Linked DNA regions of Homo sapiens: all the other regions are linked to region 1. The links are contacts of gene promoters, found by promoter capture Hi-C in human tissues and cell types (Jung and others, 2019). All regions are on one chromosome and are shown on one strand. The core of a region is centred on a gene start or on the middle of the fragment in contact, and the rest is flanking DNA. Distances in the headings are between cores, read along the strand shown. Region 1 holds the start of NCOA6 (nuclear receptor coactivator 6). Region 2 overlaps MMP24-AS1-EDEM2 (MMP24-AS1-EDEM2 readthrough). Region 3 overlaps UQCC1 (ubiquinol-cytochrome c reductase complex assembly factor 1). Region 4 overlaps ITCH (itchy E3 ubiquitin protein ligase). Region 5 overlaps MMP24-AS1-EDEM2 (MMP24-AS1-EDEM2 readthrough). Region 6 has its middle 17 kb from the start of ITCH. Region 7 overlaps ITCH (itchy E3 ubiquitin protein ligase).

What was found. The method cuts DNA at HindIII sites, captures the fragments that hold promoters and counts their contacts. A contact is called where the count stands out against the background at its distance.
Region 2: a fragment that was not itself captured here is called in contact with the fragment with the promoter of NCOA6 in region 1 in 2 of the 25 tissues and cell types used here (lymphoblastoid cells and mesendoderm cells).
Region 3: a fragment that was not itself captured here is called in contact with the fragment with the promoter of NCOA6 in region 1 in 2 of the 25 tissues and cell types used here (bladder and heart left ventricle).
Region 4: a fragment that was not itself captured here is called in contact with the fragment with the promoter of NCOA6 in region 1 in 1 of the 25 tissues and cell types used here (lymphoblastoid cells).
Region 5: a fragment that was not itself captured here is called in contact with the fragment with the promoter of NCOA6 in region 1 in 3 of the 25 tissues and cell types used here (IMR-90 fibroblasts, lymphoblastoid cells and mesendoderm cells).
Region 6: a contact is called between a fragment that was not itself captured here and the fragment with the promoter of NCOA6 in region 1, in 4 of the 25 tissues and cell types used here (heart right ventricle, hippocampus, lymphoblastoid cells and 1 more).
Region 7: a fragment that was not itself captured here is called in contact with the fragment with the promoter of NCOA6 in region 1 in 1 of the 25 tissues and cell types used here (dorsolateral prefrontal cortex).

The regions. Positions count from the first base shown.
Region 1 is chr20:34,823,732-34,827,492 of GRCh38, reverse strand. It overlaps NCOA6 (nuclear receptor coactivator 6), which reads left to right and starts at 1,842. Exons shown (of 15, transcript NM_014071.5): 1 at 1,842-2,021. RefSeq lists silencers at 1,736-1,925, 1,936-2,375. The HindIII fragment of the contact is 14,831 bases long and covers 1-3,761 here.
Region 2 is chr20:35,248,161-35,251,817 of GRCh38, reverse strand. The region is part of intron 2 of MMP24-AS1-EDEM2 (MMP24-AS1-EDEM2 readthrough); the gene reads left to right. All of the region lies in intron 2 of MMP24 (matrix metallopeptidase 24), which reads right to left. Among named protein-coding and RNA genes, the nearest start is that of MMP24, 23 kb to the right of the region's middle. The HindIII fragment of the contact is 6,147 bases long and covers 1-3,657 here.
Region 3 is chr20:35,319,821-35,323,987 of GRCh38, reverse strand. All of the region lies in intron 7 of UQCC1 (ubiquinol-cytochrome c reductase complex assembly factor 1), which reads left to right. Among named protein-coding and RNA genes, the nearest start is that of FAM83C, 29 kb to the right of the region's middle. The HindIII fragment of the contact is 3,522 bases long and covers 978-4,167 here.
Region 4 is chr20:34,501,292-34,505,321 of GRCh38, reverse strand. It overlaps ITCH (itchy E3 ubiquitin protein ligase), which reads right to left. Exons shown (of 25, transcript NM_031483.7): 24 at 919-991. Among named protein-coding and RNA genes, the nearest start is that of DYNLRB1, 13 kb to the left of the region's middle. The HindIII fragment of the contact is 4,977 bases long and covers 1-4,030 here.
Region 5 is chr20:35,180,156-35,184,161 of GRCh38, reverse strand. The region is part of intron 4 of MMP24-AS1-EDEM2 (MMP24-AS1-EDEM2 readthrough); the gene reads left to right. It also overlaps a transcript of PROCR not described here. Among named protein-coding and RNA genes, the nearest start is that of PROCR, 10 kb to the right of the region's middle. The HindIII fragment of the contact is 9,419 bases long and covers 1-4,006 here.
Region 6 is chr20:34,343,978-34,347,883 of GRCh38, reverse strand. No RefSeq gene overlaps it. Among named protein-coding and RNA genes, the nearest start is that of ITCH, 17 kb to the left of the region's middle. RefSeq lists a silencer at 3,404-3,567. The HindIII fragment of the contact is 6,422 bases long and covers 1-3,906 here.
Region 7 is chr20:34,371,989-34,375,669 of GRCh38, reverse strand. The region is part of intron 2 of ITCH (itchy E3 ubiquitin protein ligase); the gene reads right to left. Among named protein-coding and RNA genes, the nearest start is that of ITCH, 11 kb to the right of the region's middle. The HindIII fragment of the contact is 5,475 bases long and covers 1-3,681 here.

The sequences.
Region 1 (3,761 bases), core at 593-3,092:
AATGTACATATACACAATGGAATACTATTCCGCCATTAAAAAAGAGTGAGATCGTGTCATTTGCAACAATATGGATGGAACTGGAGGTCATTATGTTATGTGAAAGAAGCCGGGCACAGAAAGACAAACTTCACATGTTCTCACTTATTTGTGGGAGCAAAAAATTAACTATTTTTTATTTTTTTTTGAGACGGAGTCTCACTCAGCCACCTAGGCTGGAGTGCAGTGGCGCGAGCTAGGCTCACCGCAACCACCATCTCCCAGGTTCAAGAGATTCTCCCGTCTCAGCCTCCTGAGTAGCTGGGATTACAGGCACCCGCCATCATGCCCACCTAGCTTTTGTATTTTAGTAGAGACAGGGTTTCACCATGTTGGCCAGGCTGGTCTTGAACTCCTGACCTCAGGTGATCCGCCCATCTTGGCCTCCCAAAGTGCTAGGATTACAGGCGTGAGCCACCATGCCGGGCCAGGAGCGAAAAATTAAAACAATTGAACTCATGGAGATAGAGAATAGAAGGAGGGTTACCAGAGGCTGGTAAGATTAATGGGGAGGTAGGTGGGAAGTGGGAATGATTAACGGGTACAAAAGAATAGTTAGAAAGAATAAGACCTAGTATTTGCTAGCACAAGAAGGTGACTACAGTAAAAAACAATTGGCCGGGCGCGGTGGCTCACGCCTATAATCCCAGCACTTTGAGGGGCAGAGGCGGGCGGATCATGAGGTCAGGAGTTCCTGACCAGCCCGGCCAATATGGTGAAACCCCATCTCTACTTAAAAAATATACAAAAATTAGCTGGGCGTGGTGGCATGCGCCTGTAGTACCAGCTACTCAGGAGGCTGAGGCAGGCGAATCCCTTGAACCAGGGAGGCGGAAGTTGCAGTGAGCTGAGATCGCGCCACTGCACTCCAGCCTGGGCGACGGAGTGAGACTCCGTCTCAAAAAAACAAAAATAAAACAAAAAACAAAAAAAAAACCACACACACACAAAATTTACTTGTACATTTTAAAATAACTAGAGTATAATTGGGTTATTTGTAACACAAAGGATAAATGCTTGAGTTGCTAGATACCCCATTTACCATGATGTGATTACACATCGCATGCCTGTATCAAAATCTCATGTACCCCATAAATATATTCACCTACTACGTACTTACGAAAATTTAAAAAATACATCAGTGTAGTGTGGGAAAAAACAGAAAATTTTTAAAAAAGAGTGAAAGCCAGATATGAATCCAGGCCTGTATGACAGACATGAAGTCCAGTGCTGAGGAGGCCTTTCTACGTTTGGGAAGAGGGGAGGGGCCACACTCGTTCGATCAATAATTCTATTTACTGAGCATTTTAGCTTGCTAGGGAGGTAATGATGGGAAAAAGAAGAGAGGGATTTAGAGGCAAATAATAATGAAAGCTTTTATCTATATCCCATTAAGCTTATTATTAGACAGTATGTGTCAGGCACGGTGACAAGTGCTTTCCAAGCCCACCTCCATTTGCTCTTCACAAGCACTATGATTTTCCCCATATTTCAGATGGGTAAACTGAGGCTTGGAGTTGCCATGTCCAAGGATACTCAGAGCGCTCGCAAAAGACTGTGCAATGTGTGCTTCCGAAGTGGGACTCACTGGCGAGAGAATAGCCCTGGAAAGCCGACAGAGACCCACGAGATCCCAGCACTAAGCACTCAGCACCGAAGGGAGCTGGCGCGCGCTCCACCTCGCGCTCCCGGGGACGTCTGGTCACGTGGGCAATGCCCCGCCCCTCGAGTCCGCCCCGCCCCCTCTCGCGCTCCCTCCCTCTCTCCCTCCCTCCCCCTCCCTCCCCGGCCCGGTCCGGCCCATCCCCCTCCCCGCCGGCTCCGTGAGGCCCTGCCGGGTCGGGCTGCGGGCGGCCGGGCGCGGGCGGCGGGACAGACGGGCGCACGCGAGGACTGACGGACGGACGCACCGAGGGCGGCGGGCACGCACGGCCCGGGCCGGCGCTCCAAGGCCCGCCCGGGAGGGCCGGGGCCGCGCTCAGGTGAGGGGACGGCGGCGCGGGCCCGTAAGGGGTGGGCCCGCCGGGCGTCCGCGGTCCTTGTCGGGCTGGCTTCGCGGGGAGGAGGCGCCGCCCGGGCCCGCGCGGAAAAATGGCGCCGGGCGACCGAGTGGCACGGTCTGAGAGCGGGCCCGGCCCGGAGCCGCCCCGCCCGCCGCGCTTGTGTCCCCGTCGCCATGTTGGGGAGCGGGCCCCAGGCCTGCGGGCGGGGGCGCTGGAGGGAGCGGCGGCCGGGCTGGGTGGGGAGGGTGCTGGGCGCGGGGGCCGGTGCACTGAGGGAGTGCAGGGCTGGCCGGGGTCTGCACGGGGTGGCGCTCCAGGCCTGGGGAACAGGCGGGAGCCGGTCGTGGGGTCGTGGTCAGGGTCGCGGAGAAGGAACACTGGGTCCGAAGGGAACCGGGATTGGGGTCTATGGGCTGAGAGGATGGCAGGACGTGGAACTGGGTTAGGCCTTAGGCGGTGTTAGAGCCCTAATGCAGGTAGGACCTGGGGATTGGGGTGGAGGCATGGGGGCCAAGCTCAGGCTGTCAGGGCTGGAGCAGTTCTTTGCTGGGAGGGAAGGAGGTGATTGATGAGGAATGAGGGCCCTTTGGGTACAGACGCTGGTTCAGATTGGGGCAGTCCTTGGGGTACTGGGGCTGAATTGCAAAGCTGTATAACTCCCAAGGCTCTGAAGACTTATGTCCCAAGCATCCTCCACCCCCTCTTGGGGGAAGCAACAGGAAAAAGGAGGTGTTTGATGAGAGAAAAGGGGGACAAAGGGAGACTGAGGTTTGGGTGCAGGAGCTGGCCAGCAAAAGAGGCACAGAGAGTGGAACTGGTTGGCAAGGAAGGAGAGAACCTTTATCAACTTAGGGAGTTGTGTGTGTCTTTAAAAGGAGGGACCTGGCTGTTTGGGGGCGGTGACCCAAGGTGTCTTCCCTGGAAGGGGACAGCCCACAGCTTAAGAGCAGAGTCACCTGGAGAGGTCATCAGAAAGGCGTTATTGAAGCCAGTAAAATGGTGAAGAAGAGTGAATGTATAAAAACTACAAAGGCCTGAGAGATCAAGTAAAGATTTCAAATCAGGTAGTGATTTTAGCTGAAACATAGAAAGGTAAAGTTGACTTTTCAAGATCTTACAAGTTAGTGGCAGAGGGGTACTAGAAATTGTCGGCTGCTTCCTCACTAAACACATTGCCTTAAAGGAATTTGCTAGCTGGGAGAAAGGTGTTAAGAAATGAAGCATAACATTCTTGTGATGAAACTAAAAGCAAACAAACAAAAACAACAAGAAATGAAGCATAACAGTATATACCAGATAACTATTAAATTTGTTTTCTTCCTGTAATGAGTGTGGCAATACAAAGGCTGAAGGGAATACAAAAAAGTATAGGCAGCCAGTTATTTGGTATTTCCTGGTTCATCTCTAATTGTGCAAAGAAGTTATCTTTGAGACCTTCTAACTTTCTAGAGTTTTAAGAGGTGCTCCGGCCAGCCACAGTGGCTCACGCCTGTAATCCCAACACTTTGGGAGGCCAAGGTGGGAGGATTTCTTGAGCCCAGGAGCTGGCAGACCCCATCTCTACAAAAGAAATAAAAAAAATTAGCCACCTGATGTGGCTTGTACTTGTAGTCCCAGCTACTCAGGAGGCTGAGGTGGGAGGATCGCTTGAGCCTGGGAGGTCAAGGCTGCAATGAGCCATGCTATGGTCATTCCATGACATTCCTGCCTGGGCGACAG
Region 2 (3,657 bases), core at 1,142-3,641, 420 kb before region 1:
CTGGAAAGCAATGTGCATCCTCAAGCTACACTCTGGGACCCTGGCTTGGATGGACCCCAACAAGAACATGATTGATTGATTCATTAATTCATGCACTCACAATCATAGATGAGGAAATAGCTGTATAAAGACTGAGAATCAGAATATATGGGCTTGATAAGCTCCAGCTCCACCACTAGTCATAGGACCCCCAGGCAAGTGGCTGAACCAATATGAACCTCAGTTTCCTCCTCTGCAACATGAGAACTCTAGTTCTTGGTCTTAGGTGGAGGTGCGTCTTCAAGGAGGAAGTACATGTGAAAATGCTCTGTAAATGCAATGAGATTACAGGATGCCCTGGTTAAAAGCCTCCAGCGACTTCCCCAAACACTGAGAATAAAATTCAAACTCTTCAGCTGGGCACGGTGGCTCACGCCTGTAATCCCAGCACTTTGGGAGGCTGAGGCGGGTGGATTATCTGAGGTCAGGAGTTCGAGACCAGCCTGGCCAACACGGTGAAACCCCATCTGTACTAAAAATACAAAAAAAAAAATTAGCCAGCTGCAGTGGTTCACACTTGTAATCCCAGCTACTCAGCAGGCCGAGGCAGGGGACTTGCTTGAACCCGTGAGGCGGAGGTTGCAGTGAACCAAGATTGTGCCATTGTGCTCCAGCCTGGGCAAGAAGAGTGAAATGCCGTTTCAGGAAAAAAAAAAAAAAAAGAAGTGGCTTAACAACTGTGGGATGTGGAACATAATTCTCTGCAGCACTTATTATATTGTGTTGTGATTTAAAATTTATTGGTTTATTTCCTCTAATAAATGGTAAATTGAGGACAGGAACTATGTCCTATTCATCATTGTATCCTCAAAAGAAGGTAGCCCAGTGCCTGAAATTACGTAAATCCTGATATCTGTTTGTTACCAGGTGATATGTTTTGATTTGTGTCTCTGTTGGAGGCGGGGCCTGGTGGGAGGTGATTGGGCCATGCAGGCAGACTTCCCCCTTGCTGTTCTGCTGATAGTGAGTGAGTTCTCATGAGATCTGGTTGTTTAATGGTGTGGAGCACCTCCCCCTTCTCACTCTTCCCCCTGCTCCTGCCATATGATGATGTGCTTGTTTCCCCTTTGCCTTCTACTACGATTGAAAGTTTCCTGAGGCGTCCCCAGCCATGCTTCCTGTAAAGCCTGTGGAACCCTGAGCCAACTAAACCTCTTTTCTTTATAAATTACCCAGTTTCAGGTATTTCTCTTTCTTTCTTTCTTTTTTTTTTTTTGAGACAGAGTCTCGCTCTGTTGCCCAGGCTGGAGTGTAGTGGTGCCATCTCAGCTCACTGCAACCTCTGCCTCCCAAGTTCAAGCAATTCTCCTGCCTCAACCTCCTGAGTAGTAGCTGGGATTACAGGCGCGCACCACCACGCTTGGCTAATTTTTGTACTTTTAGTACAGACAGGGTTTCACTATGTTGGCCAAGCTGGTCTTGAACTCCTAGCCTCAGGTGATCTGCCCACCTTGGCCTCCCAAAGTGCTGGGACTACAGACATGAGCCACTGCGCCCAGCACATTCTTTTAAAATGTTTAATTCTTGGCCAGGTGCAGTAGCTAACACCTATAATCCTAGCACTTTGGGAAGCTGAGGCAGGAGATTGCTTGAGCCTAGAAGATTGTGACCAGCCTGGGCAACATGGCAAAACCCTATCTCTACTAAAGATACAAAAAATTAGCCAGGCATGGTGGCATGTGCCTGTAGTCCCAGCTACTAGGGAGGCTGAGGTGGGAGGATCACCTGAGCTTGGAAAGTTGAGGCTACAGTGAGCCAAGATCACACCAGTACACTTGGGTGAGGGGAGTCAGACCTTGTCTCAATAAATAGATAAATAAATAAATAAAATAAAAAAGTTTGATTCTCAAAACAACACTGTGAGGTAACAGAAATTATTATTCCCGGGCCAGGCACGGTGGCTCACACCTGTAATCCCAGCACTTTGGGAGGCCGAGGCGGGCGGATCACGAGGTCAGGAGATCGAGACCATCCTGGCTAACATGGTGAAACCCCGTCTGTACTAAAAAATAAAAAAAAAAAATTAGCCGGGCGTGGTGGCGGGCCCCTGTAGTCCCAGCTACTTGGGAGGCTGAGGCAGGAGAATGGCTTGAACCCAGGAGGTGGAGCTTGCAGTGAGCCGAGATCCCGCCACTGCACTCCAACCTGGGCGACAGAGCGAGACTCCGTCTCAAAAAAAAAAAAAAGAAATTATTATTCCCATTTCACAGATGAGGGAAACAATCCACAGATAAATCCAGTACCTTGCAAAACACAGAAATCAGCAAGGCAGGACTGGAACTTAGTTGAATGAAAAAATGAACTATTCATTAATGCAATTTAACAAAGCCTGGAGCTTTTATTTTTTCCTGTCAGTGCTTAGCACAAAGCTGAGCTAGAGGAACTATGTTGTTGACCAAATGAATGAGTGAATGAATAAATGTGTGACATTTCCCAAGGCGACACTCAAACATAGGACTTTAAATGGCTAATCTAGCTTCCTTTAATTAACAGTCCCTGGGAAGGGAACCAAGAACCACCTCTGACTGAGTTAGACCCAAAGGCACCTAGGGGAGGAAACAGGCTCAGAGAAAGGCAGCCATTGCCCAAGGTCACAGAGCTGGAGCTGCATCTTGGGGCTCTAAATTCTACCCTGAACACTCCCCATCTCAGGTCTTGGATTAATAAGTGCAACTGGCTTCCTCCTTCCCCTGCTTCCAGACCACAACTCCCCCGCCTTCTACAAGGAGGTGTGGGCAGAACTGCAAGTGGGAAATGCCATCCTTTTCCCTCGGATCATTCCCGCTGCCTCCTCCTTTCACCATCCACCTGCCACTCTCTGAGCGCCATCCAACAGGCCTGGGGCTTTTTGGAACAGAGTAAAACCCAAGGCCAGGTGGTGCCGCAGCAGAGACACCAGTGCTTCTGCCCCAGGATGCACTGCCATGAGGCCTGTGCAAAGCCCTCAAAATAACCTCCGCTTTGAAAGGCGGCTGGGCTCTCTTTAACCAGCCCACTCTGGAGACCACGGGGCCAAGGAGTCCACTGTATTCACAACAGCACAGGAGAAGAAGTTCACACTCATAATCAGAGAATCCTAGGAATGGGAAATGTTCACACAGGATTTTAGGATCCTAAAACCCCAGACTTGCCAAGTTTTAAAAGCTTAGATGCTTAAAATAATGGAATCTAGGCTGGGCACGGTGGCTCACGCCTGTAATCCTAGCACTCTGGGAGGCCGAGGTGGGCCGATCACCTGAGGTCAGGAGTTCGAGACCAGCCTGGCCAACATGGTGAAACCCCATCTCTACTAAAAATACAAAAAAAATTAGCCAGCATGGTGGTACATGCCTGTAATCTTAGCTACTTGGGAGGCTGAGGCAGGAGAATCGCTTGAACCCTGGAGGCAGTGGTTGCAGTGAACCGAGATCACGCCACTGCCCTCCAGCCTGGGTGACAGATCGAGACTTCATCTCATCAAAAAAAAAAAAAAGGGGGGGGGAATCTAGAATTTAGAGCCATAATCCAACACCCTCCTTTGCAAATGAACACACTGAGACCCAGAGAGATGATTCTGTCCAGGAGTGACTTACGTCAAATTGATCCTTGATCCACAACTGGGTGCATTTCCTGTTCCTC
Region 3 (4,167 bases), core at 1,489-3,988, 500 kb before region 1:
CCACTGTGCCCTGCCAAGGGTGATCCAACTGTAGCTTCCTTTTATATTTGGTTGTTTGTACTCTCAGAAGCAAGAGTCAGATTAGCTAAGCTTCAGCTATGTGCCCATCTCTGTGATGAGAGGACAGCATTCTAGGATCAACAGCCTGCCAACTCGTGGAAATGGGAAAGAGTAGGTCCTGAACATAAGGAAGAAATGCAGAGAGAGAAACCTCAGTGTCACAGTACTTCTAAGATCTACTGACCCATTGAGGCAGATGATGGAGGCAACCTGACCAATCCATGGAATAGCCTCTGGGTGTTTCTCTTGGCCATAGAATCTTGAACGCCCTGGCCTGTGACCAGTGCCAACCCATTGTAACCATATATATCTGACATTCTTTCTTGAAACCTCTCTGGTTTCTCCATGTTCATTCTTAAGTACGGTTGGTAAGACAAAGACTTTTGACTATTAAAATAAATGAGGGGAGAAAACTTTTTGACCTTTGCATATGGCTTTTCCTTTAATATAGATAATAATAATTACCTTTTCATATTTCTGATTTATCTGTTCATGAGAAAGATTTGCTCTGGGATGCTATTACATCTACTTGGTCAGACCCTTGCTTCATCCTGTTATTTTTTTATTTTGATATAGACATAATACTGTGCATTTGACCTTGTCGAATCTCATCTTCTTTTTAAGGACAGTTTTTCTAAATTTAAAAAGAGTCTATTTTACTCTTGCTTTCCAAAGTGCAGAAATGAGCAATTTTAGCTTTGTGCTTGTGTGATTCTTCCATTTCTCATATGACTCATCAGAAGCAGAAAGGTGTGATCGCTTAGAAAAGACAGTAGATTGGGGCCGGGCGCGGTGGCTCACGCCTGCAATCCCAGCACTTTGGGAGGCTGAGGCAGGCGGATCACAAGGTCAGGAGGTCAAGACCATGCTGGCTAACACGGTGAAACCCCGTCTCTACTAAAAATACAAAAAATTAGCCGGGCATGGTGGTAGGCGCCTGTAGTCCCAGCTACTCAGGAGGCTGAGGCAGGAGAATGGCGTGAACCCGGGAGGCGGAGCTTGCAGTGAGCCGAGATGGTCCCACTGCACTCCAGCCTGGGTGACAGAGCAAGACTCCGTCTCAAAAAAAAGAAAAGACAGTAGATTTAGAGACTGACCATCTGAGTTAAAAGTCCCAGCACTGTCACTTACAAGCAGGATGTGATTTGACTACAAGTGACTTAACGTTTTTGTTTTTGTTTTTGTTTTTGTTTTTTGAGACAGAGTCTTGCTCAGTTGCCAGGCTGGAGTGCAGTGGCACAATCTTGGCTCACTGCAACTTCTGCCTCTCGGGTTCAATGGTTCCCCCGCCTCAGCCTCCTGAGTAGCTGGGACTACAGGTATGCGCCACTATGCCCAGCTAATTTTTTGTATTTTAGTAGACATGGGGTTTCACTATGTTGGCCAGGCTGGTCTCGAACTCCCGACCTCAGGTTATCGGCCCACCTCAGCCTCCCAGAGTGCTGAGATTACAGGCGTGAGCCACCGCACCTGGCCACTTAACAGTTTTGAGCTTCTGTTTCCTTGTTTATAGAATCAGGACAACAATAGCATTTTGGCTGTGAGCTCCTCGAGGGCAGGGTTGTGGTTGTGAGGCACAAATAAGATAATAAAATGAAAATATTATTAAATGCATTGTGTAATCATTGTTACGACCATCACTGTCATCATTATTATCAGTACGGATTTTAGATAGTACCCAGGATTATTTCCTTTAGGACTCCGCACCATCAGTGCTGTTGTTGAAACTGCGACTCTTTCAAGCCAGGTGTTGGCTTCTCTAATGAGTATGCATGAGACTTGTCATGTGGAATACTACAAAAAGCTTCCAGAAACCAAAGTAGATTATAGCTATAATGTTCCCCTTATTCAAATGCCCTAAAAGAGACGAAAGTTAAATTGCCATGGTAGTTTGATCATCCCAGAACCGTAGTGTACCTCATCAGCTCCTTTTGAAGATGATTGTGGACTTAATATTATGTGTTCTCATGTTTTCTCAACTGGACAAATGACTAGAATTTCTGAGGACATACATCTCTTCTCTCTTGGCTATTTTCCAAGCCTGAGGGAAGGACTCCTGTACTTCGTGACTATATAGAAATTAGGGCTGCTGGTTCTGCAATTCTGTCTGCCAACCATGTCCCTTGTTTTTCAGCACATTATCAGGCTATGCAGTCTTGAACATGTAGATCCCAAGCAGCAAAACTAGAATTTTCAAAATAAATAAGAAAGGGGTTTGTATTATTATTACTATGTTGTAGAGACAGGACCTCACTTTTTTGTCCAGGCTAGTCTTGAACTCCTGGCCTCAAGTGATCCACCTGCCTTGGCCTCACAAAGCATGGGGATTATACACGTAAGCCACCTTGCCCAGCCAATAAGGGAATATTTTTAAACAGCATGTCATCATAGCAAGCTTCCCTTGTACATTAAAAGTTTGAAATGTTTAAAATGGATTTTAAAATGGACCTCCTCATGCTGGGTTTAGGTTGGCCTTTCATCGCAACGGGAACATACTCTATTTAAATGTTCACATTATTTTCTAAAAAGAGAAAAAGAAATTGTCTTTCATTTAAAATATTTTTCTTTTTATTCTTGGTATTAACAACTTTTTCTGGAACTGCTCAATATGCATGCGTGCCTGAGCGTGCGCGCGCGCGCGCGCACACACACACACACACACACACACACACACAGTTTTGTTTGTATTTTGTCATCATTGCTAAAAGACCCTCAATAGATCTTTCAGTCGTAATGCATGTGAGTTAACAGGTAGACTTTTTTATTTGGTCTCTCCATGTCCCCCGTCTCTCTTGTCTGTCTACTCTTACTCTGTTTCTAAGTATCTCACAAAATATTCCACAGTGGGCTAATTTCTAACCTGAACTTTAAATAGGCTAGCTGATGTTCAGTGCACATCAGCCTGTTGCCGCACAATGACTGTAGAACATGGCGTTGGCACTGCAAAGCATTGGTGGTGGCATTACTGTCTACTACAGCAAACTAAAACATGACCTACAATCTTGTGTTGCATTGTTGCCTTATGATGAATTTGATATAGTCCTTAGGCTTCAGCCAGCAACTCTAGCTGTCCTTTGTCATTCATTCATTCCAGCAAATTCTTAGTCTGCTACTGTTAGCAACTTTGCTTCAAGCCAGTAACCTTAAAGCTTATTCTCACCTTCATGCTCATCAGTGTTTTCCATACCAACTTTCTTCTGTTTTCCCATTCCCCCACCATAATTACACCCACTCTCAACCTCAGGTTTTCCCAGGAGTGGAGCTTGGCTCTACTAGGGATATCTGATGTATTAGTAACCGGCCACTGATGACCCATCTGGTGGCTGTCTCTAGCTGCCACTGGAACTGGAATCTCTGAGTTGTGTTTACTCAAGACCACATTAGCATTTCTTAGTTCTGCCTCTGCAGATAGCCTGAGCTGTGGGGCACAGGAAGGGGCAGCTACATTCCTTCCAGTGTCTATTCCAACACAGGTAGGCAATGGAGTTGGATTGCTCTGTATTCTTATCTTGACCCCACTATTTCCTAGCTGTCTAGCTTTAACTTTCCCAAACATCAGATTCCTCTTCTCTAAAGTGGAGACAGTAACAGTTCCTGTCTCTTAGAGTCCTTGGGAAGGTTTAAGTGGGCTAATGTGTAAAGTTGTAGCACAGTTATTGGCACTTGGTAAATAATGAATGATGGGACCCGTCTCCAGACTTGAATCACTTTGGGGCACCTGTAGATGGGGGAGAGGGCAGACTTAGTAGAGAAAATATGTGTGCTAAGTCTTAGAGGATAAGGAGTTAGCATCCCTTCCATCAGTGGATAAAGAAGAGAAGAATTCCTGGCAGCAGTATGACTAAGAAATAGATGACAGCATGATGTATCTGTGCACATACTTTACTGACTGCAGGGTGAAGTAAGATGGGGAGGCAAGAGGAGGGGAGGCAAAAAAGATGGCCAAGAGCAGATCACTAGAAGCCTTGTAGAGTCCATGGAGGAGTTAAAACTTGATCTCCCATCAGTCCCTGTATCCACATAGTCTGGTTCCTCTGTTAAGCAGTCACATAAATATCTTTAAGGCAGCAACAGTGAAAAGGGGAAAGAGAGCAGCGAATTGGCCTC
Region 4 (4,030 bases), core at 560-3,059, 320 kb after region 1:
CTGTAATCCCAACACTTTGGGAGGCCGAGGTGGGTGGATCACCTGAGATCAGGAGTTTGAGACCGGCCTGACCAACATGGCGAAACCCCATCTGTACTAAAAATACAAAAATTAGCTGGGCGTGGTCACGGGCGCCTGTAATCCCAGCTGCTTGGGAGGCTGAGGCAAGAGAATTGCTTGAACCTGGGAGGCGGAGGTTGCAGTGAGCTGAGATCAAACCACTGCACTCCAGCCTGGTCTACAAAGTGAGACCCTGTCTCAAAAACAAACAAACAAACAAACAAACAAAAAAACCCCACTGAACCGAACTGCATAATTTAAGAAGGTGAGTTTTATAATCTGTAAATTATATATCAATAAAATTGTTACTTAAACACTACATGCATGTACAAAACATTATGTATAAAAACAAAAAGGAATAGACATTAGTAAAACAGTAAAGAGGTCAGATATCCAGGAAGGACCATATGTGACCACTAAAATATATCCCACAAAATAAGGTTCAAATATTGTTGACATTAGGTTGAATTCCAAAATATTAATATATTTGCTGTCAGATTAGGATTAGATTTAGTTTTCTACATTTTTAGAAATGTAATTAGATTTCAAATGAGAATATTTGTGGTCATGATGTTAGAAAGTAGGTCTCCTAACTTTCTTTTGCTGCCCTCAGAGAAAAGTTAAAATAACTCTAAATCCCACATTAGAAAAAAAATTCAGATGTGAAAAAAGGAATTGATTGCAAATAGTTGTAAGGAATCATACAGGGGTGAACAAAATGCTCTTAAACTGGATTGCTATGATGGCTGTGCTATTCTGTAAATCTACTAAATATCATTTTTAATTTCTAGCTGGCTTTAAATAGCTACAGATAACTGGACAAAAGCTGTTTTCTCTATCCATTCTGATTGTACTTACCAGGTATGACTTCTGGGTAGCCAATTTTCTTTCCCAACTTTTTCAATGCAGAATTTCTGTGGTCCATTGCTCCCTAAAACATAATGAAATCATAAACAGTTTGTTAGTATAGTGGATCTCAAACTGTGTTCCCCAATCCAACAAGCATCAGCATCATGAGGGAACTTGTTAGAACCATAAATCCTCAGGCCCCACACATCATCTTACTAATTCAGAAACTCTGGGTTAGGTGTGGTGGCTCATGTCTGTTATCCCAGTACTTTGAGAGGCAAAGGTGGGCAGCTCACTTGAGGTCAGGAGTTCAAGATCAGCCTGGCCAATATGGTGAATCTTGATCTCTACTAAAAATACAAAAACTAGCCAAGTGTGGTGGCGTATGCCTGTAATCCCAGCTACTCAGGAGACTGAGGCAGGAGAATTGCTTGAATCTGTGCAGCAAAGTTGCAGTGACTCAAGATTGCGCCACTACACTCTCGCCCGGGTGACAGAACGAGACCCTATCTCAAAAAAAAAAAAAACCAAAAAAAAAAAAACCAAAAAAAAAAAAAAACCCAAAAAACCCAAAAGCAACCAACAAACAAAAAAGAAACTCTAGGGGTCAGGCTCAGCAATATGTGCTTTAACAAGCTTCCGGGTGATTCTGGTAAGTGTAAAAGTTTGAAGACTATAGTTTGTTAATATAAGTCCCAAAGGAGAAAATGCAGTTTCATCTAGCATTCTTTAGCCGGAATAACACATTGTTATGATTAATAAAAGCTTACACAAGAACACACAAAAAGCTTAATTTTAGTAGTTTGAAAGACAATAACGAAACTACAATAAAACTTGATTTAAATACAGAATTAATAAAACTTTGTGAAATGTAAATATCCTAGTGAATTCCATATTATTAATGCTGGAACTTACAGGTCCTGTAGGGCATACCCTTACAAAAACAGATACAAGTATAAACATAAAATACTTGCCCCTCATTTACCTGCTGCTGGAGATAGCTGTGAAAAGTGATCATAAAAACACCAGTTTTTTAAAAGATCATTACTTTTCCCTAGGAAGCATTTATTGTTGGTCTCAATGACTGGTAATGCTACTAGATATTTTAATTAGAAGGGGGCAGGAACGCTAACTGTTCTGTAATGTGTGACACTGTCAGACACAAAGAACTTTCTCATGTCCCACCTGACTAAACCCTGTATACTAAGTATACCCAATATAAATTGTTAGTGCTTTTGTATTTAATAACACTGAATTGTTTTCACAAGTAGTTATGTAAAAAGTCCAGTAATATAGGAAACGTTATAAAAAAACACAGTTAAAATTATTCTGTGGTGTTCAACACATAAATTAAAATTAACTCACTCTGCATGTTCTCTCTACTCAATATATATATTTTTTGAGACAGAGTCTCACTCTGTCACCCTGGCTGGATGGCAGTGGCACAATCTTGGCTCAATGCAACCTCCGCCTCCTGGGTTCAAGCAATTCTCATGCCTTAGAGTAGCTGTGATTACAGATGTGCACCACCACACCCAACTAATTTTTGTATTTTTAGTAAAGATGGGGTTTTACCATGTTGGCCAGGCTGGTCTTGAACTCCTGGCCTCAAGTGATCAACCCACCTTGGCCTCCCAAAGTGTTGGGATTACAGGCATGAGCCATCATGTCCACCCTCTACTCAATATTTTATAGCATTTTCTTTTTTTTTTTGAGGCGGAGTCTCCCAGGCTGGAGTGCAGTGGAGCAATCTTGGCTCACCACAACCTCCGCCTCCCAGGTTCAAGTGATTCTCCTGCCTCAGCCTCCCGAGTAGCTGGGATTACAGGTGCCCACTACCACACCCGGCTAATTTTGTATTTTTAGTAGAGATGGGGTTTCACTATGTTGGCCAGGCTGGTCTTGAACTCCTGACCTCAAGTGACCCAACCGTCTCGGCCTCCCAAAGTGCTGGGATTACAGGTGTGAGTCACTGTACCTGGTCACATTTCATTTTTTATAAATTTTTTTTTTTTTTAAGACACAGGGTATCACTATGTTGCCCATGCTTAAGTGCAGTGGCTGTTCACAGAAGCAGTTATAGTGCACTACAGGCTTGAAATCTTGGGCTCCAGCAATTCTCCTGCCTCAGCCTCCAAATAACTGGGACTACAGATGTGTGCCCACCATACCTAGCAGCATATTTAACTACATAGATGGAAAGGAGTTTCATTTAATAATGCACATTAGTATGTAACAGAAAGGATTCTGAATTGCTTTTAATAGATTTAAAATCAAATATTAAAAACTCTGACACTGTCCCTAAACCATACAACTTCTGTGTAGACTTTTGTACCTATGTTCCTATTTTCAGCCACCTTTCAAATGTTATGGTCTCCGAGGCTTTTTTACATGTTAGAGCCTTGGCCTATAGTAGAATTTCATGACAGGAGATATATTCTGATACTATGCTTTTAAGATCTACCTCATTTTTCTCCACCTTGACCATCTATAATTTATTTTTGCAGGTGTATTATTCATACTTTATTTAGGTTACTTCCCTCCTTTTGTTATCACATATACTTAAGTCTATTATTTATCTTTCTCATCTGTTCTTTTATTTTCCAGTACTACTTGTCTTTTTTTTTTTTTTTTTGAGAGATGGAGTTTCGCTCTTGTTGCCCAGGCTGGAGTGCAATGGTACGATCTTGGCTCACTGCAACCTCTGCCTCCCAGGTTCAAGCGATTCTCCTGCCTCAGCCTCCTGAGTAGCTGGGATTACAGGCATGTGCCACCACGCCTGGCTAATTTTGTATTTTCAGTAGAGATACGGTTTCTCCATGTTGGTCAGGCTGGTCTCGAACTCCCAACCTCAGGTGATCCGCCCGCCTCAGCCTCCCAAAGTGCTGGGATTACAGGCGTGAGCCACCGCACTCAGCCCTTCCAGTACTTCTTATAGAGAATGGCTTTTGATCTTGTCTTAAACCTTTTCTTATAAGTAGGAACAAATATTTGACTTCTTAGGTATATCTTCTAACATAGTTGTCCCCAAATAGACATGTATTAAAACACATATTATTTCATTATAAATTACCTAAAAAATTTAATCCCTTATATTACAGTTAAGGCTATGTATAAGTAT
Region 5 (4,006 bases), core at 874-3,373, 360 kb before region 1:
TTATAGTATAATTTGAAATCAGGTAGTGTGATGCCTCCAGATTTGTTCTTTTTGCTTACTCTTGCTTTGGCCATGTGGGCTCTTTTTTGATTCCATATGAATTTTAGAATTGTTTTTTCTAACTCTGTGAAGAATGATGGTGGTATTTTGATGGGGACTGCGTGAATTTGTAGATTGCTTTTGGCAGTATGGTCATTTTCACAATATTGATTCTATCCATCCTCCTATAGCCATTCTTGATGGTATGAAGTGGTATCTCATGGTTTTGATTTGCATTTCCATAATGACTATAACGATGTTGGGCATCTTTTCATGTGCTTATTGGCCACTGGTGTATCTTCTTTAAGAAATGTCTAAAATTTACTCTGCTTTTTCCTATTTTCATTATTGAATCTGTTCTGTCTATCTTTCCTATCTGGGCATGGTCATATCTCACCAATTCACAAATACCATGTTTCTCCCCTAGATTCCTCTGATTCCTGCAGTTTTAGTAGAGGAGAGAAAGCATAAATCCTAGAACACAAAGGCACGGGTTTGAATCCTAGCTCTGATACTATATTAGTCAATTCTTGTGCTGCTATACTGGAATACCTGCAAGTGGCTAATTTATAAAAGAAAAGAGGTTTATTTTTGACTCACACTTCTGCAGGATGTACAGGAAGCATGGCACCAGCATCTTCTTCTGGTGAGGCCTCAGGAAGCTTTCAATCATGTTGGAAGGCAAAGGGGGAGCAGGCATATAAGATGAGACAGAAGGAAGCAAGAAAGAGGAGGGGAGGTCTCAGATCCTTTTAAACAACGAGATCTCATGTGTAATCTAACTGAACAAGAACTCACTCAACACTAAAGGATGGTGTTAAGCCATTCATGAGGGATCTGCCCCCATGACCCAAACACCTCCCATTATGCCCATCTCTAACAATGGAGGTCACGTTCCAACATGAGATTTGGAGGGACAAAACATCCAAACCATATCAGTTATTAACTTTCTTATTCTCCCTAAACATGTCTCCTAATCTAAAATGATTATATCTATCTTACAAGACCAAAGAGAGTATTAAATGATAAACGCAAGTTACAGAATTCCAAAAACTATATAGCAATATGTAAATGATAGCTACAAGAGTAAATCAGAGCATAACATTTTTCTTTCTTTCTTTCCTTTTTTTTTTTTTTTTTTTTTTTTTTGAGACGGAGTCTCGCTCTGTCGCCCAGGCTGGAGTGCAGTGGCACGATCTCAACTCACTGCAACATCTGCCTCCTGGGTGCAAGCTACTCTCCTTCCTTAGCCTCCTGAGTAGCTGGAACTACAGGCACGTGCCACCATGCCTGGCTAATTTTTGTATATTTAGTAGAGACGGTTTCACCATGTTGGCCAGGCTGGTCTCGAACACCTGACCTCAGGTGAACTGCCCACCTCAGCCTCCCAAAGTGCTGGGATTACAGGCGTGAGCCACCATGCCCGGCCACATAACATCACATTTTTATTTGTGTGTTTCTTCTAGTTATACAATGCATCTTGCCTTGTGTTGTTCTCTTTTGTATGTTTTATCTTCCCAAGAAAAGACTGGGCTCCTTGAGAAGGATCATATCCTAATCGTTTTGTGTCTTCCAAAGTACATAACATAAAGCCTTCTATATGGAAGTTTCTGACAAACATTTATTAAACGAGTAAATAAATTAATGATGTGAGATATAGTGAACATTTATGGGTTTTTGTTGTTTTTGCTTTTCTATTTTATTTTTCTTTTGTTCTGTTTTTTGAGCCCAGGAGGTTGAAGCTGCAGTGAGCCATGATCGTGCCACCAATTCCAGCCTGGGCAACAGACCAAGAGTCTGTCTCAAAAAAAAGATAATATATGTAGAGTTAGTAAATACAGCAGTGGCTACTGATCTCCAGGCTTCTCATTTGCATCAATTCTTTAAAATCACCTGTACCTGTTTTGGTTGCCCAGCATCTGAAATCTCTTCCTCTGTGTGAGTCTTAATGGGAGACAGGTTCTCACCTCCCACAAGAGAAGTCAAAGGTATCTAAAGTTTTCCTTTTCCCCCCTGCACTTGCAGCTAAGGCAAAAGCAACATGATCAAGGCTTGGTCATTTGGCTGCTTCCACTCAGGATATTGACTCTTGAACAAATGATGTAAAGACACAGGGTCAGAGGAGAATTCCTTTAATATGGCAGCAGCATTGGTGATGGAGGTAGTGCTTCCAGCTGTGGCATCCTTAATACCATTCCTGTGGTGTGACTTTGGCTGTGGTCCCTGGTTCTACTTTCTGAGCTTGATTATCTGGCTTTCCCATCAACTCTGAGGATTACTTAATAACCTTCCAATATACTTATTTTCCCCTTAAGTTGGCAGAATTGGTTTCTGTTGCTTGCAACTAATAATCTTAGCATACCTCTGGAGTAAGGATTTGGGGAGAATGAGAAAGCAGGAGGCGTTCCGTTTTTCCTTTATGAAATTTCTTTGTAAACTTCTCTGTTATTGCTGTTGTTGTACCACTTCCGTCATTTAAAAATATGCTTTTAAAATAAATAATCTAAGGCACAGTGGCTAAAGAGAAATGGTAGAAAATAAAATTTGAGGGGCCGGGCACAGTGGCTCACGCCGGCAATCCCAGCACTTTGGGAGGCCAAGGAGAGCAGATCATGAGGTCAGGAGTTCAAGACCAGCCTGACCAACATGGTGAAACCCCGTCACTACTAAAAATACAAAAATTAGCCGGGCGTGGTGGCACATGCCTGCAATCCCAGCTACTTGGGAGGCTGAGGTAGGAGAATAGCTTGAACCCAGGAGGTGGAGGTTGCAGTGAGCAGAGATCGCACCACTTTACTCCAGCCTGGGTGACAGAGTGAGACTCCATCTCAAAATAAAATAAAATAAAATTAAATTAAAATTAAATTAGAAAATTAGGTTGGGGCCACATTGTGCAAGGCCTTGAATGTCATTTTGAGGATTCTGAATTTAACTCAATGAGAAATTTAAAAAACAGTCCAGGCGTGGTGGCTCACGCCTGTAATCCCAGCACTTTGTGAGGCCAAGGCGGGTAGATCACTTGAGGTCAGGAGCTCAAGACCAGCCTGACCAACATGGTGAAACCCCGACTCTACTAAAAATACAAAAAATTAGCCGGGCGTGGTGGCACATGCCTGTAATCCCAGCTACTCGGGAGGTTGAGGCAGGAGAATTGCTTGAACCTGTGAGGCAGAGGTTGCAGTGAGCTAAGTTCACACTACTGCACTCCAGCCTGGGTGACAGAGAGAGACTCTGTCTCAAAACAAAACAAAACAAAACAAAAAACAAAAAACAAACAACAACAAAAAACGGAATAATGACACAATTAGATCTGTGTTTCTTACTGCCATGTAGAAGATGAATTAAAATATGGAGAAATTAGAGGCAATTTCTTAGGAGGAGGCTGCTGCCATGGTCCAGACAAGATTGAGAAAATTTCTCAATTTTGAAAGAGAGAGAGACACACACACACAAGTTGGGTTATCTGGAAGCAGAGGCTGAGACAGAGTTTGAGGTGCAAGATGCTTACCAGGGGGAAGAAGTAGGGCTGAGCTAAGAGAGAAGTCAAACGGCAATGCAGATCTGACAAAGACCCAGCCTCCCTGGCAGGGAGCTCTGGAGTGAATATTTCCAGCCCTGGCTAGCCCTTGTCAATCCAACCTATTCTCAGAGTTGTCCTGCAGTTGGCCAAAATGACCGAACTTTTATACCCCTGCCTTGCTTAGGCACCGAGTGAGGGCAGCCCTGGGATGGGCATGATCTTGTGCAGGACTGTCCTCTACAGCTGAGGCAGACATTGAAAGAACTGAAGCAAGCGGAAGCTATCTGCTGGCTATTCCCCCTATAGCTGAACGGCAAGTCTTTTTTTTCTTATTTATGTATTTATTTATTTATTTGAGATGGAATTTTGCTCTTGTTGCCCAGGCTGGAGTGCAGTGGCGAGATCTCAGCTCATTGCAACCTCTGCCTCTTGGGTTCAAGAGATTCT
Region 6 (3,906 bases), core at 196-2,695, 480 kb after region 1:
TATCTTAAAAGACACCATTTGCTTTCTGTGTTACCCATGGAGGGGTCCATGTGACGTTGTTCTGGATTCCCATTGTAACTTCAAGGGAAACTTTCACAATGTCCAGAGCCCTTGATGTCCTGCCAATGAAGAAAGAGGATGTCTTCAAGTTCCTTGTAGCAGGATAGCAGGAACCCACTTAGGTGGCATCAGCCTTGACTTCCAAATGGAACAGCACTTTTTTTTTGGAGACAGTCCAGCTCTGTCACCCAGGCTGGAATGCAGTGATGCGATCTCAGCTACTGCAACCTCCGCCTCCTGGGTTCAAGCGATTCTCCTGCCTCAGCCTCCCTAGTAGCTGAGATTACAGGTGCCTGCCACCATGCCCAGCTAATTTTTGTATTTTTAGTAGAGATGGGGTTTCACTGTGTTGGCCAGGCTGGTCTCGAACTCCTGACCTCATGATCTGCCCACCTCGGCCTCCCAAGTGCTGGGATTACAGGCGTGAGCCACTGCGCTCGGCCACTTTTTTTTTTTTTTTGAGACAAAGTCACACTTTTGGCCAGGCTGGAGTGCAGTGGCGCCATATCGGCTCACTGCAATCTCTGCCTCCTGGATTCAAGCGATCCTCCTGCCTCAGCCTCCCAAGTACCTGGGATTACAGGCACACGCCACCATGCCTGGCTAATTTTTGTATTTTTAGTAAAGATAGGGTTTCACCATGCTGGCCAGGCTGGTCTCAAATTCCTGACCTCGTGATCAGCCCACTTCGGCCTCCCAAAGTGCTGGGATTGCAGGCGTGAGCCACTGAGCCCAGCAACTTTTGTATTTTTAGTAGAGGTAGGTTTTACCATGTTGACCAGGCTGGTTTCCAACTCCTGACTTCAAGTGATCTACCTGCCTTGGCCTCCCAAAGTGCTGGGAATACAGGCGTGAGCCACTGAGCCCAGCCCTAGAGCTAGCATTTAATCCAACTTGGGGGATAAGGGAAGTATCTAAAGCAATAAGAATATATTTTGTTGGCTGGGCGCAGTGGCTCATGCCTGTAATCCCAGCACTTTGGTAGGCCGAGGCAGGCGGATCATGACATCAGGAGATCGAGACCAGCCTGGCCAATGTGGTGAAACCCCGTCTCTACTAAAAACACAAAAAATTAGCCGGGTGCGGTGGCATATGCCTGCAGTCCCAGCTACTCAGGAGGCTGAGGCAGGAGAATTGCTTAAACCTAGGAAGCGGAGGTTGCAGTGAGCCGAGATTGCATCACTGCACTCCAGCCTGGGCAATAGAGCGAGACTCTGTCTCAAAAAAAAAAAATCTTTTGTTAAAATATTTGGCCTTTTGTCCTAGATCTTTGAAACCCCTCTTGGAATAGCTTCAGTGCCAGAAGGTGAAAGATAAAAATATTGTTATTTAAAACAATCCCTTTTCAAACACACTTGAGTTTATATTTTGTTTTGTTTTGAGAGGGAGTCTCGCTCTGTCACCAGGCTGGAATGCAGTGGTGCGATCTCCACTCACTGCAACCTCTGCCTCCCTGGTTAAAGAGATTCTTGTGCCTCAGCCTCCTGAGTAGCTGGGATTACAGGCACGTGCCACCACACCTGGCTAGTTTTTTGTTTTTTTTTTTTTTTTTTTTTTTTTAGTAGAGACGGGGTTGCACCATGTTGGCCAGGATGGTCTCAATCTCCTCACCTCATGATCCGCCCGCCTTGGTCTCCCAAAGTGCTGAGATTACAGGTGTGAGACACAGCGCCCGGCAGAATTTATGTTAATGACAGGATTCGGGGAAAGTTCCAAGATAACCACAGGATGGGAGAGTGGCTGCCAGAGGATCCAACCATTAGTTCAAAGGGTTGAAACTTTCAGCCCCACCCCCAACCTCCAGGGAGGGTCTCTAAGTGAAGTTAATCACCAATGGCCAATTATTTATCAATCATGCTTACCTAATGATGCTTTTTTTTTTGAGACAAGAGTCTCACTCTGTTTCCCAGGCTGGAGTGCAATGGCGTGATCTCAGCTCACTGCAATCTCCACCTCCAAGGTTCAAGCAATTCTTGTGCCTCAATCTCCCAAGTAGTTGGGACTACAGGCACCTGCCACCACAACCAGCTAATTTTTGTATTTTTAATATAGATGGGGTTTCACCGTGTTGGCCAGGCTGGTCTCGAATTCCCGACCTTAGGTGGTCTACCTGCCTAGGCCTCCCAAAGTGCTGGGATTACAGGTGTGAGCCTCTGGGCCCAGCCTGACGCTTCCATTATAAACCAAAGCGACTGGGTTCAGAGAGCTTCTAAATAGCTGAACACCTGTAGGCTTCCAGGAAGGTGAATGAGAGCACATCCACACGCAGGAGGAGGAGGTGACACCCCATCTCCATAGGGATAAAAGCTCCCGTGCTCCAGACCCTTTCAGACTTTACCCTTTGTTCTCTCCATCTGGCTGTTTATTTGTAGCGTTTGTAATGTATATGTTTCCCTGAGTTCTGTAAGTCCCTCTACCAAATTAATGGAACCCAGGGAGGGAGTTGTGGGAATCCTGATTTATGGCTGGTTAGTTTGAAGTTCTGGAGGCCTGGACTTATTACTGGCATCTGAAGTGAGGATAGTCTTGGGGACTGAGCACTCAACCTATGGGACCTGGTGTTATTTTCAGGTGGATAGTATCAGAGTTTATTTGGACTAGAAAACACCCAGCTGGTGTCCACTGCAGAACTGACTGATTGCCTGATGTGTGGGGAAAACCCCTATACATCTTGTGTCAGAGGCCTGTTGTGAGTATAGTGGGAGAAACTGAGTTTGTTTTTTCTGGTCATGGTGGTTGTACAACTCAATAAATTTACTATAAATCATTCAATTATACACTAAAAGTGTGTGCATTTTATGGTATGGCAATTATACCTCTATAAAGATGTCTTCAAGGCTGGGCGCAGTGGCTCACGCCTGTAATCCCAGCACTTTGGGAGGCTAAGGCGGGGGCGGATCATGAGTTCAGGAGTTCAAGACCATGCTGGCCAACATGGTGAAACCCCGTCTCTGCTAAAAATACAAAAAAATTAGCTGGGCGTGGTGCGTGCGTGTAATCCCAGCTACCCGGGAGGCTGAGGCAGGAGAATCGCTTGAACCAGGAAGTCAGAGCTTGCAGTGAGCAGAGATTGCGCCACTGCACTCCAGCCCGGCGACAGCAAGATTCCATCTCAAAAATAAAATAAAATACATAAAATAAAATAAAGATGTCTTCAAATATAAGGCCTCGGCCAAACGCCGTGACTCACATCTGTAATCCCAGCACCTTGGGAGGCTAAGGAGGGAGGATCGCTTGAGCCCAGGAATTCAAGACCAGTTTGGGCAACATAGGGAGACCCCAGTCTCTATAAAATACACAAAAATTAACTGGGTGTGCTGGTATGTGCCTGCCGTCCCAGCTACTCTGGAGGTTGAAATGGGAGCATTGGTTGAGCCCAGGAGGTTAAGGCTGCAGTGAGCCATGATCCTGCCACTGCACTCCAGCCTGGGTGACAGAGCGACACCCTGTCTAAGAAAAAAAAAAAAAAAGGCTTCAACCTGGGAACGTTGATTGTCTGCCCTCCCCGCCAAAAAAAAAAAAAGAAAAGAAAAGAAAAGAAAAGAAAAACCAGCCAGTGGTTCCTAGCCATTTCATCTCTAAAAATTTATCTCTTAGATAAATGTGCAATGAACAAAATAACTGATGAACATGGTTATTTGTCATAACAATGTTTGTAATAGGTAAACATTGGAAATAAGGTCAATGTTCAACAGTAGAGGACTAGATAAATTATGGTACTAGAAAAACTATGCAGGAACTAAAAAAAAAAAAAGAAGAAGAAGGTGGCAGGTATAGTGACATAAGCCTGCAATCCCAGCTACTCAGGAGGCAAAGGTGTTGAGAACTTTGCTCCTTAGTTCAGCT
Region 7 (3,681 bases), core at 278-2,777, 450 kb after region 1:
ATTCCCAAGACCTTAAGTAGTATTTTTAAATTATTTTAATTGACAAAAAAGGTATATATTTATCATGTAAAACAGGTTTTATTTATTTATTGAAATAAAATAAAGATGGGGTCTCACTATGTTATCCAGGCTGGTCTCAAACTCCTGGCCTCAAGAGATCCTCCTGCCTTAGCCTCTCAAAGTGCTGGGATTATGGCATGAGCCACCATGACCAGCCCATAACATGTTTTAAAATATGTACATGTTGTGGAATGGCTAAATCGAGCTAAATAACATATACATAACCTCACATACTTACTTTTACCTCCATTAAAAAAAAAAAAAAAAAAGGCCAGGTGCGGTGGCTCACGCCTGTAATCTCAGCATTTTGGGAGGCCGAGGCAGGCGGATCACCTGAGGTCGGAAGTTCCAGACCAGCCTGACCAACATGGAGAAACCTCGTCTCTGCTAAAAATACAAAATTAGCCAGGCGTGGTGGCACACACCTGTAAACCCAGCTACTTGGGAGGCTGAGGCAGGAGAATTGCTTGAACCCGGAAAGCGGAGGTTATGGTAAGCCAAGATTGCGCCATTGCACTCCAGCTGGGGCAACAAGAGCGAGATTCTGTCTCAAAAAAAAAAAAAAATCACGCCAGGCGTGGTGGCTGACACCTGTAATCCCAGCACTTTGGGAGGCCGAGGCGGGTGGATCACCTGAGGTCAGGAGTTCAACACCAGCCTGGCCAAAATGATGAAACCCTATCTCTACTAAAAATACAAAAAATTAGCCAGGCGTGGTGGAGAGCACCTGTAATTCCAGCTACTTGGGAGGCTGAGGCAGGAGAATTGCTTGAACCCGGGAGGCAGAGGTTGAGGTTGCAGTGAGCCAAGATCATGCCACTGCACTCCAGCCTGGGCAACAAAAGTGAAACTCTGTCTCAAAAAAAAAAAAAAAAAATTGTAAGCCAAAGCTGCTTTAACAGCTGCTCCCTTGGAGGGGAATGAATTCCCTAGTTCACTTAAAGTCCCAGTCTGATCTGTCATTACTTACTAAATGTTCATCCAGCCCTTGCAGGCATTTAAATTTACAATGCTCAGCCTAAATAGGTTTACTGAATGATTTATGAACTCAGATCATAACTTTAAGAAAGATAAGGTTGATGGTAATGATGATAATGAAAACAACGACTAACACTTCACACTGTGAGCCAAGTCTTGTTCAAGCAGAAACACATAATACCTATGTATATATGCTATTACTATTCCCAATTTACAGATGAGAAAACTAAGGCAAAAAGAAGTTAGGCAAGTTGGCCAAGATCATACCACCACTACACAGTAGAGTCAAAATTCAAAATCAACCTAACTCCAGTAAATACTGTTAACTCCTACAATATAATCCTTTAGACTAAAATCCTTTCCTTTGTGACCAACTAAATTTGATTATTTGGAAAAATAATCAAGACAAAATTGTAGAACCTACTCTTTCTTTGCACGAATGAAGGCCTAACAAGCAAATCAAAGTTCACCTAAATGCAGATGGTTATTTCTGGAGCTTATCTTGTCTTAAAAAAATAAAAAATAAAAAGTCCATCCTGGCCAACATGGTGAAACCTCGTCTCTACTAAAATACAAAAAATTAGCCAGGCGTGGTGGTGGGCACCTGTAGTCCCAGCTACATGGGAGGCTGAGGCAGGGGAATCGCTTTAACCTGGGAGACGGAGATTACAGTCAGCCAAGACTGTGCCACTGCACTCCAGCCTGGCGACAAAGCAAGACTGCATCTTAAAAAAAAATAAAAAAAAAAAATGTTCTCTTGTAACTGACAAAGAAAAGGTTGCAGAATCCAGTAAAATAATAAACATTTTCTCAGAAAGCAAGCAAGTTAGTAGATATTTCTGGAGTGAGTTAAGCTCAATATGTAGATGAATTCTTAACCTGTAAGTGACGACATAGTATTAAAATTCTTCTCTTTTCTGGGACAGAAGGATAGATCTATTAGGGTAAGCAATTTCCAGACATGGAAAAAAAAAATGCGAGTTGCTGGAGGGCAGAGATTGCTTTTTCACCATAAGTCCCTGCAATGTCTAGCATACAGCAGCACTTAAAATACATTCAATTATGTTAGGCCGAATGCCTATAATTCCAGCACTTTGGGAGGCCAAGGCAGGCGGATCACCTGAAGTCAGGAGTTTGAGACCAGCCTGGCCAATATGGTGAAACCCCATCTCTAGTAAAAATATAAAAATTAGCTGGCCATGGTGGCAGGGACCTGTAATCCCAGCTACCCAGGAGGCTGAGGCAGGAGAATGGCTTGAACCCAGGAAACGGAGGTTGCAGTGAGCCAAGATTACACCACTGCACTCCAGCCTGGGCGAGAACAAGACTCTGCCTCAAAAAAAAAAAAAAAATACATTTGGCCAGGTGCAGTGGCTTATGCCTGTAATCCAGAACTTTGGGAGGTCGAGGCAGGTGGATTATTTGAGGTCAGGAGTTCAAGATCAGCCTCACCAACACAGTGAAACCCTATCTCTAGTAAAAATACAAAATTAGCTGGGCGTGGTGGCACATGCCTATAATCCCAGCTACTTGGGAGACTCAGGCAGGAGAATCGCTTGAACCCAGTGGGTGGAGGCTGCAGTAAGCTGAGATTGCACCATTGCACTCCAGCCTCGGCAACAAGAGAAAAACTCCGTCTCAAAAAAAAAAAAAAAAGGAATACATTCAATCATGTTAAAGGAACCAAAAAATCTGAACTTAATTTCTTAAATTGCAATGCAATGAAACTCTTGTAACATTTACCAACTTCCTTTTTATAATAATCAATCACTGGCAAGGAAGTCTGTTTTCCTGACAAAATCCTTAAACCAGGAGTTTTATATTTGAGTACCCCTTGGAACCTAGCACAATAGCAGCTCAACAGATCCTTGTCAAATATTACAAACTTAAACTTTCTATACTTACGTTTCCTACAGGTCTCTCAGTGCCAATGTTTAAAGTAGAACTTAAAAGGCCGGGTACGGTGGCTCATGCCTGTAATCCCAGCACATTGAGAGGCTGAGGCAGGCAGATCACGAGGTCAGGAGATCGAGACCATCCTGGCTAGCACGGTGAAACCCCATCTCTACTAAAAATACAAAAAATTAGCCAGGCATGGTGGCGGGTGCCTGTAATCCCAGCTACTCAGGAGGCTGAGGCAGGAGAATTGCTTGAACCCGAGAGGCGGAGGTTGCAGTGAGCTGAGATTGCGCCACTGCACTCCAGCCTGGGTGACAGAGTTAGATTCCCTCTCAAAAAAAAAAAAAAGTAGAACTTAAAATAACATGGTTTCTCATTTATAAAGCATCAGACATTATGAAGCCTTTTTTTTTTTTTTTTGAGACAAAGTATCCCTCTGTCACTCTGTCGCCCAGGCTGGAGTGCAGTGGCGTGAACTCGGCTCACTGCAAGCTCCGCCTCCCAGGTTCACACCATTCTCCTGCCTCAGCCTCCCGAGTAGCTGGGACTACAGGCGCCCGCCACCACGCCCAGCTAATTTTTGTATTTTTAGTAGAGACGGGGTTTCACCATGTTAGTCAGGATGGTCTCGATCTTCTGACCTCGTGATCCGCCCGCCTCAGCCTCCCAAAGTGCTAGGATTACAGGGATGAGCCACCGCGGCCGGCCGAAGCCTTATTATAAGATATTTCTGATATCAGTCAT